Regions from separate parts of the Homo sapiens genome. Here region 1 is linked to region 2. The links are contacts of gene promoters, found by promoter capture Hi-C in blood cells and fetal thymus (Javierre and others, 2016). All regions are on one chromosome and are shown on one strand. The core of a region is centred on a gene start or on the middle of the fragment in contact, and the rest is flanking DNA. Distances in the headings are between cores, read along the strand shown.

Evidence for each region. Contacts are between HindIII fragments. The CHiCAGO score rates a contact against its expected background, and 5 or more counts as called.
Region 1: a fragment that was not itself captured here is called in contact with the fragment with the promoter of TAF10 in region 2 in 3 of 17 cell types (activated CD4 T cells, non-activated CD4 T cells and total CD4 T cells); the score reaches 9.7 in activated CD4 T cells.

What each region holds. Positions count from the first base shown.
Region 1 is chr11:6,726,675-6,730,570 of GRCh38, forward strand. No RefSeq gene overlaps it. Among named protein-coding and RNA genes, the nearest start is that of OR2AG2, 43 kb to the right of the region's middle. The HindIII fragment of the contact is 3,901 bases long and covers 185-3,896 here.
Region 2 is chr11:6,610,561-6,614,466 of GRCh38, forward strand. TAF10 (TATA-box binding protein associated factor 10) reads right to left here and starts at 1,656. Exons shown (of 5, transcript NM_006284.4): 1 at 1,398-1,656; 2 at 1,104-1,258; 3 at 828-892; 4 at 629-743; 5 at 1-451. The coding sequence starts at 1,629. The coding sequence ends at 362. It overlaps TPP1 (tripeptidyl peptidase 1), which reads right to left. Exons shown (of 13, transcript NM_000391.4): 13 at 2,208-3,906. ILK (integrin linked kinase) reads left to right here. Exons shown (of 13, transcript NM_004517.4): 13 at 1-310. The coding sequence ends at 51. RefSeq lists enhancers at 271-859, 860-1,447, 1,903-2,032, 2,083-2,132 and silencers at 1,303-1,502, 1,513-1,612. The HindIII fragment of the contact is 6,165 bases long and covers 1-2,547 here.

The sequences.
Region 1 (3,896 bases), core at 885-3,384, 120 kb after region 2:
CACTATATGATGATAAAATGGTCAATTCAACAAGAAAATTGTATTAATCCTTTTTGCATTGCTATACAGTAAGTAATATCTGAGGCTGAGTAATTTATAAAGAAGACAAGTTTATTTGGGCTCATGGTTTTGCAGACTGTACAAGAAGCATATCGCAACATCTGCTTCTGGTGAGGGCTCAGGAAGCTTCCATCATGGCAGAATCTGAACGGGGAGCAGGCATGTCACATAGTGAGAGGGAGAGCAGGAGTGAGATGCCAGGCTCTTTTAAACAACCAGCTCTTGCATGAACTACTAGAGTGAGAACTCACTCATTACACTGAGGAGGACACCAAAACATTCATGAAGGATCTTCTCCCATGAACTAAACATTCCTCACTATGCCAACCTCCAACACCTGGCATCACATTTCAACATGAGATTTGGAGGGGACAAACATTTAAACTATATCACAGATACAACAATTATAAACCTATATGTACCTAACATTGAAGCTCCTTAGTATATAAAGCAAACATTAATAGATCTAAAGGGAGAAATAGACTGCAATATAATAATAGTGGGGGTCTTCAACACCCTACTCTCAGTAATGGACAGATCATCCAGACAGAAAATCAGCAAAGAAAAAGCAGAGTTAACCTACACATTAGATCTAATAGACCTAAATGACATTTACAGAACATTTCACCACACTTCCGCAGAATGTATATTCCTCTCATTAGCACATGGAATATTCTCTAGGACAGACCACAAGCAATGCCACAAAACCAATCTCAACAAATTCAAAGAAATCAAGATCATATTAAGTGTATTTTCTGACCACAATGAATAAAACTGGAAATAAATAAGAGAAACCTTGGAAACTATACAAACACATGGAAGTTATGTGTTCCTAACTACTGGCTAATGAAGAAATTAAGAAGGAATTTAAATAATTTCTTGAAATAAAGGAAAGTGAAAAGACAACATACCAAAATCAATGGGCTACAGCAAAAGAAGTACTAAGAGGGAAGTTTATAGCAGTAAATGCCTACATCAAAAAAATGGAAAGATTTCAAATAAACAACCTAATAATGCACCTCAGGAAACTAGAAAAACAAGAACAAACCAAAGCTAAAAATAGTAGAAGGAAAGAAATCATAAAGATCAGAGCAAGAATAAATGAAATTGAGGCTAAAAACATACTAGTATAAAAAATGTCTTGAAGAGTTTCCCCAATGTTTTCTTCTGGGAGTTTCATAGTTTTAGGTCTTATATTTAAGAATTGGAAGGGTGGTGAGGGGGATGATGAGGGGTTGGTTAATTTTATGTTATGTTAATTTCACTTCAATAAAGATTATGTAGATTTATACGTAAATAAAGTATATAAAAACAAGGGTAGTAAAACTCAAAATCCATCACTTTCTAATTATTTTCTATAATCTATGTTGCTGAATCCAAGTCTATGTTTTTTTCATTGCATATATGTGTGTGTGTGTAAAGAAGAGAGAGAGGGTATATTATGTAATGATGTGTTACTTTGCGTCTCTCACAATTTTAAGCTGGAGTTGGTAATTTGAAAGTGGCCACAGAGAGGATATTTATGTAATAGAAACAGGCAAATGCTACAAAACAGGAATTTTATTTTCTGAAGAGCTGGTTAAAACATTTACAACACACTCTTGATTGTAATCCTTCATAGTCTTCTCTGTTTCCCCTTGGCTCACTGACTGTAATCCCCAGAAACAGAGATTATGGCTTGTTCAGCTTTGAGTCCTGAAGACAGAACACGGTGCTGGCGATGACTGAGCACTTTTAAGAACTGACCAAAGAAGGTATGTTCTGTAAACTTTCGTATCTTTAGGCTTCCACGTTTCTTTCCTTTACTGCCTGTTTTCTAGTTGATTTGGGAAAATTCCAGCTTTATTCTGAATAAACTAAAGGAAGTTGTCTACATAAATCTTTTCCTAGAGGAAAACAAGAGCCCAGTGATCCAGGAAGCCATCTCCAGCTTGGACAAAGTGACATTTGGAACTGTGGGGCAGAGAGGGAAAGTCAGATGGAGAGTCAGTGACAGCTAGGATTGCTGATCTTTTCCTGCCAGGCATTGCTCTGATCCTTTCCTAAAGTTAGTGTATCCTCAGCTGCAGAGAATGGTTTCTTTCTAGGGACCCTGCTGTGTTCTGCTAAAAACTGGACTCCTTTCTGAGCTATATAGGAAATGTAGACAAAATATTACATGGATACATATTCCATTATCATTAAGGAAAAATTCTGTTCAATTTTTTCTCTACTTTTTCCCCTAGTAAACTAGGCGTGCTCTTTTTTTCGTGATAACACAATGCCAGAGTCGTGTCTCAAAAAAATTAAGTCTTCTCAACGAAAAACTTCTAGTAGAATGGAATCTTAGAAAGATACAGGGAGAAGATTTCCTCTCTTCCTTATATTTACAGAGAAACTTCAGTCCAACTAGAAATATGTCAATTTAAGAACAGTAACAATGAATATTATTCTTATTACTACTATGCAATCTCCGAATGTATGTATAACTGCTAGCTTCTTTTTGTCTCTCTTAATATACATTTCTCCTTGGAAGACTTATTTGAACAAAGGAGTCTTAAAAGTCTCCTGGACTTGGCTGGGCTCGGTGGCTCATGCCTGCAATCCCAGTACTTTCGGAGGCAGAGGTGGGCAGATCACTTGAGGTCAGGGGTTCAAGACCAGCCTGGCCAACATTGTGAAATCCTGTCTCTACTAAAAATACAAAAATTAGCTGGGGGTGGTGGCACACACCTATAAACCCAGCTACTAGGAAGGCTGAGGCAGAAGAATCACTTGAACTTGGGAGGTGGAGGCTGCAGTGAGCTGAGATTGCGCCACTGCACTTCAGCCAGGGCTACAGAGCGAGACTCTGTCTCAAAAAAAAAAAAAACAAAAAAAAAAAACTCTTGGACTTCAGAAATTCTTTCCATGCCCAATGGAAATAACACAATTTCAAAAATAAGACTGAAATTCTGAGTGCTTGTCTTACTTGAGCATTTATTACATCTATATTAAATTTAGAATGGATATCACTGTGTTCTTAAATGGTATGGGTACTATAAGAATATCAAATCAGAAGTGTGTTAGTGACATTTCTTCTTAAAATGAAACGAACAAATGAAGGACTTCGTTAGCTTTTGTGTTTAATAAAGCATCTGAGAGTTTTAAGAACTTAAGTTGGGTACATAACGAACTGAAGGCAGAAATAAAGATGTTCTTTGAAACCAATGAGAACAAAGACACAACATACCAGAATCTCTGGGACACATTCAAAGCAGTGTGTAGAGGGAAATTTATAGCACTAAATGCCCACAAGAGAAAGCATGAAAGATCTAAAATTGACACCCTAACATCACAATTAAAAGAACTAGAGAAGCAAGAGTAAACACATTCAAAAGCTAGCAGAAGGCAAGAAATAACTAAGATCAGAGCAGAACTGAAGGAAATAGAGACACAAAAAACCCTTCAAAAAATCAATGAATCCAGGAGCTGGTTTTGTGAAAAGATCAACAAAATTGATAGACCGCTAGCAAGACTAATAAAGAAGAAAAGAGAGAAGAATCAAATAGACGCAATAAAAAATGATAAAGGGGATATCACCACCGATCCCACAGAAATACAAACTACCATCAGAGAATACTATAAACACCTCTACGCAAATAAACTAGAAAATCTAGAAGAAATGGATAAATTCCTCGACCCATACATCCTCCCAAGACTAAACCAGGAAGTTGAATCTCTGAATAGACCAATAACAGGCTCTGAAATTGAGGCAATAATTAATAGCATACCAACCAAAAAAAGTCCAGGACCAGATGGATTCACAGCCGAATTCTACCAGAAGTACAAGGAGGAGCTGGTACCATTCCTTCTGA
Region 2 (3,906 bases), core at 406-2,905:
CCCAAATTTGACATGATTGTGCCTATCCTTGAGAAGATGCAGGACAAGTAGGACTGGAAGGTCCTTGCCTGAACTCCAGAGGTGTCGGGACATGGTTGGGGGAATGCACCTCCCCAAAGCAGCAGGCCTCTGGTTGCCTCCCCCGCCTCCAGTCATGGTACTACCCCAGCCATGGGGTCCATCCCCTTCCCCCATCCCTACCACTGTGGCCCCAAGAGGGGCGGGCTCAGAGCTTTGTCACTTGCCACATGGTGTCTCCCAACATGGGAGGGATCAGCCCCGCCTGTCACAATAAAGTTTATTATGAAAACAGGCTGGTGTGGGGACATGGGGACAGATAAGTACATTTAGGTTGGGTGGCTCAGGTGAAGTAGTGCGGCTTCTTCACATTGATGCCATACTCGCTGAGGGCAGGGGTCAAGTCCTCCATGGTTAGAGTGTACTTGCGGTCCTGAGGGAAGAGGGAAGAGCACCAACTGAGCACAGGAATCCCGGACTTCAATCCCAGATGGGTGACCCTGAGTAAGTCTTACACCTCCCCTACGATTCAGTTTCCCCAAAGGGGTGGCAGGATAAGCCTCCACTGTTGTGGAAGGTAATTACTGATTCATTAAGCCTCCCCTCACACCTTGCTCTTGCTCCGGGAGCTGCCGGAGGCCGTGCCCTTCATTTTGCAGTGCTGTAGGGCATCATTGGCAATATCTGAGATGAATTTCTGGGCAGCTAAGGAGATGAGCCGAATTCTAGAGAGAAAAAACTTAGATGAGAAGGAGATGGACAACATACTGCACAAGCACCCAAAACTAACCTGCCCTGGGTTTACTCACATGCGTGGGTCTGAGGCCTCAAAGCCAGCACGGTTCAGGTAGTAACCAGTCACTGCATCTGGGATCTGAGAAATCAATTAAGAGAACTGTCAGCAGAGCGGGAGGAGGGTGAGGGAAATGGATAGGCCTGATTATCAGGAAGCTCACAGTTTGGGTGAGCAGAGGGCAAACACAGAAGAGCGACTAGGGGAGCAAATGGAAGAGAACGCTGAAAAGCACGATGTGGCTGAAAGTTTTGACAGCAGGCTAGGTGGCCTTGTTCGGGCGGAAGCCCACCGTAGGCGTGTAATCTTCCAGCTGCATCAAGAAGTCCACCAAAGGCGTGCTGGACACCACGGGCTTCACGTCTCCGTTGGCCGCGCTCGGCAGTACGTAAACCCCGTTAGATATGGCCCCCTCCGGGGGCGCCGCGCCACCCGCCGACACCGGAGCTGGAGGAGAACCAGCAAAATGAGACACAGAGGTGGGAGGCGCAGGGCCCCAGCTAGGTCTGTCTATACCCTCTGCCCTCACCCGCCGCTGGACCCAGCCCAAGACGCTTCCCTCGCCCTCACCCGTCCCGGCCCTCACCCGCCCCACGCCGCTCAGCTGGCTCCCCGGCCCGCGCCGCCAAGGGTCCCGTGCCCCCAGCAGCTGCTCCAGCCCCAGGTCCCCCCGCTGTCCCCGCGGGGCTGGCCTTGTTCTCCGCGGCGGTGCTGGAGGGCAGCGCGGCGGGAGCCGAGACCGGGGGCGCGGGGCCCGGGGCCGAGGCGGCGGAGGCCGGCGCCGCCTCGGGGTCCGCGCCGGAGCCGCTGCAGCTCATCGGGCCGGTGGGAGAGGCGGCGAACAGAGCCGCTTCCGCTTCCGCTCGCGCCGCGCACACCCCGGGGTGACGTCACGCGCCCACGACTCGCCCCGCCTGTCTCTGTTAGTGCTCTCCAGCCCGCTCCCCGCCTCCTCCCATAGTGGATCTGCGGGTTAGAGGAAATAGGCTGCAGGGCGGAGACCGAGCCTTGGCGAACTGCGCTGCCGTAGCCATTCCGCCCTAGCCTCTGCCGTGCTCCGCGGCGATTCCGTCCAGACCGGAACCAGCGTGCGTCTGGCTCTCCTCCGCCGCTCTGGGACACCTCATTCTGTCTGACGCTCAAGACCTGGCTTCGACGTTTATGGCCCTATGTCCCTCGACTACGGGTTGCCTGCCTGTCTGCATCGTTTCAAGTTCCCTTATTCAGCCTTTTAAGGATTCATAGTGGATTTGGAAAGCCCCCTCTCTTCTCCGCCAGCTGCCCCGAGAGGTGGGGGCAGCAGTGGGGCGGCACACAGTGCTGCTGTAGGAGGAGGAGGAGTTTCAGCCTGAGTCAACAACATATGCAAAAATCACAACGAATGAGAGGCGTGAGGTTTTCGGTGTAGCAGACATTTAATTCTTATTTGCCAACTCCTGAGCTAGGACCTGGGAACACAAAGTTAAATAGGACACGATTCTAGTCCTCTAGGCACCAACGGTCTTGGAAAGGAAGGCAGACAAGTAAACTGGCCATTTCAATACTACGTGGTCGTTACAATGCTAGAGGTAGGCACAGGGGGCGCAGTGCAAGGGAGGAAGGGCGTTAACATCTGCCACCTACTTCCAGGTGCCAAGCACTGTTATCAACATTATTCCACTTTATTCCCTGGTGATTATGAAAGGCAGGTATTGATATTCACACTTAACAGACGAGGAAACAGCCTCAGGGAGATAAGCTTACTTGACCCAGTCTCTCTCCTAGTCCATATCAGAACCAAGATTCAAACAGGTTTTGTTTAGAAAATCTAGGATTTTTCAGCCATACCAAAATAAAGTAGCCTCAGGGAATCAAAACATTCACGAAAGAAGGTGACTTCTGAACTGAGTCTTGCAAGAATTCTGGAAATTAACCTGGCAGTTGTATCAGGGGTGGTAAGGGGACGGAACAGCTTGAGCAAGAGTGAGAGTTCCTTGGGGTTTGGGGAGGGAGGAGGAAAAATGATTTTTTACTTAAGAACAAATAGCAAGGAAGGTTTGTGAGCTATGATTGGGGGCTGGAGGGGAAAGCCTGAATTCTATCCAGTAATCCTTGAAGGGTTTTCATCCAAGTGGCCTGATGGGATTTGCATTTTACTCTGGAAGATGACTTGGGGATTGGCAGGAAGTAAGGACACTTTTTTTCAAGAGAATATAGCCCTAAACTAAGGTAGTAGCAGTGGGGATATAAGTGGATAAGTTCTAGATATACTTGGGAAATATAATTGGAAGGACTTGTGGACTGATAAAGATATATTTAAGATGTGCAGTCAGTAGGACTTGTTGATTGAGGACTTGTTGATTGAAGGTGGGGTGAAAAGATGACACAGGTTTCTGGCTTGGTTGGAAAAAGCATAGCATCATTTACCAAGAAGAAACGAGATGGAATTGTTTGGGGTTGGGAAGGTGGACGATGAAATGTTGAGTATCACGCATCTTACATTTGAGGTATCAATCATTATTGGATAGAAAGTCTTATTTAGTGAGATGGTAATGGTTGTAGATGTCAGTGATTTGTTCCAGGGGACAATGAGTAAACTGAGAAGAGCAAAAATCTACAAATGGAGCAATGAAGGTCAGCATTCCATGAAGAAGCAGAAATTGATGAGAGAGGAAGACAAGAGTAGTCAGAGAAGTTAAGACCTGGAAGCTAAGTAAGGAGAGGGAGTGGGCAACTATGATGGAAAGGCCATAAAGCAAAGATTGAGAAGTATGCACTGGAGGCCATTGTTTCTGGATGTCAGGGTAGGAAAGAGTAAACGGTGACAGTAGAGGTCTCCTTGCAGTGAATTGGGGAATGAATATCAAGTGAAATAGTGCACAGAGTCTGTATACAACCCTTTGGAAAAGCCTGATTGAAAAGAGAAAGATGAGATGCGGAGGGAGAGGCATTCAAAAAATGCTAGTTACAGCATCTTATTGAGGAATCTAAGGCAGGAGTAGGGAGACCTGAGTATGATGGAGCATGGTAGGGTTGGGAGTCAAGTCAAGCTCACAGCATTTCAGGGTTAGGGAGATAAGCTGTCTGCAGCAGTCAATAGTTGAGGGTTCAGCAGG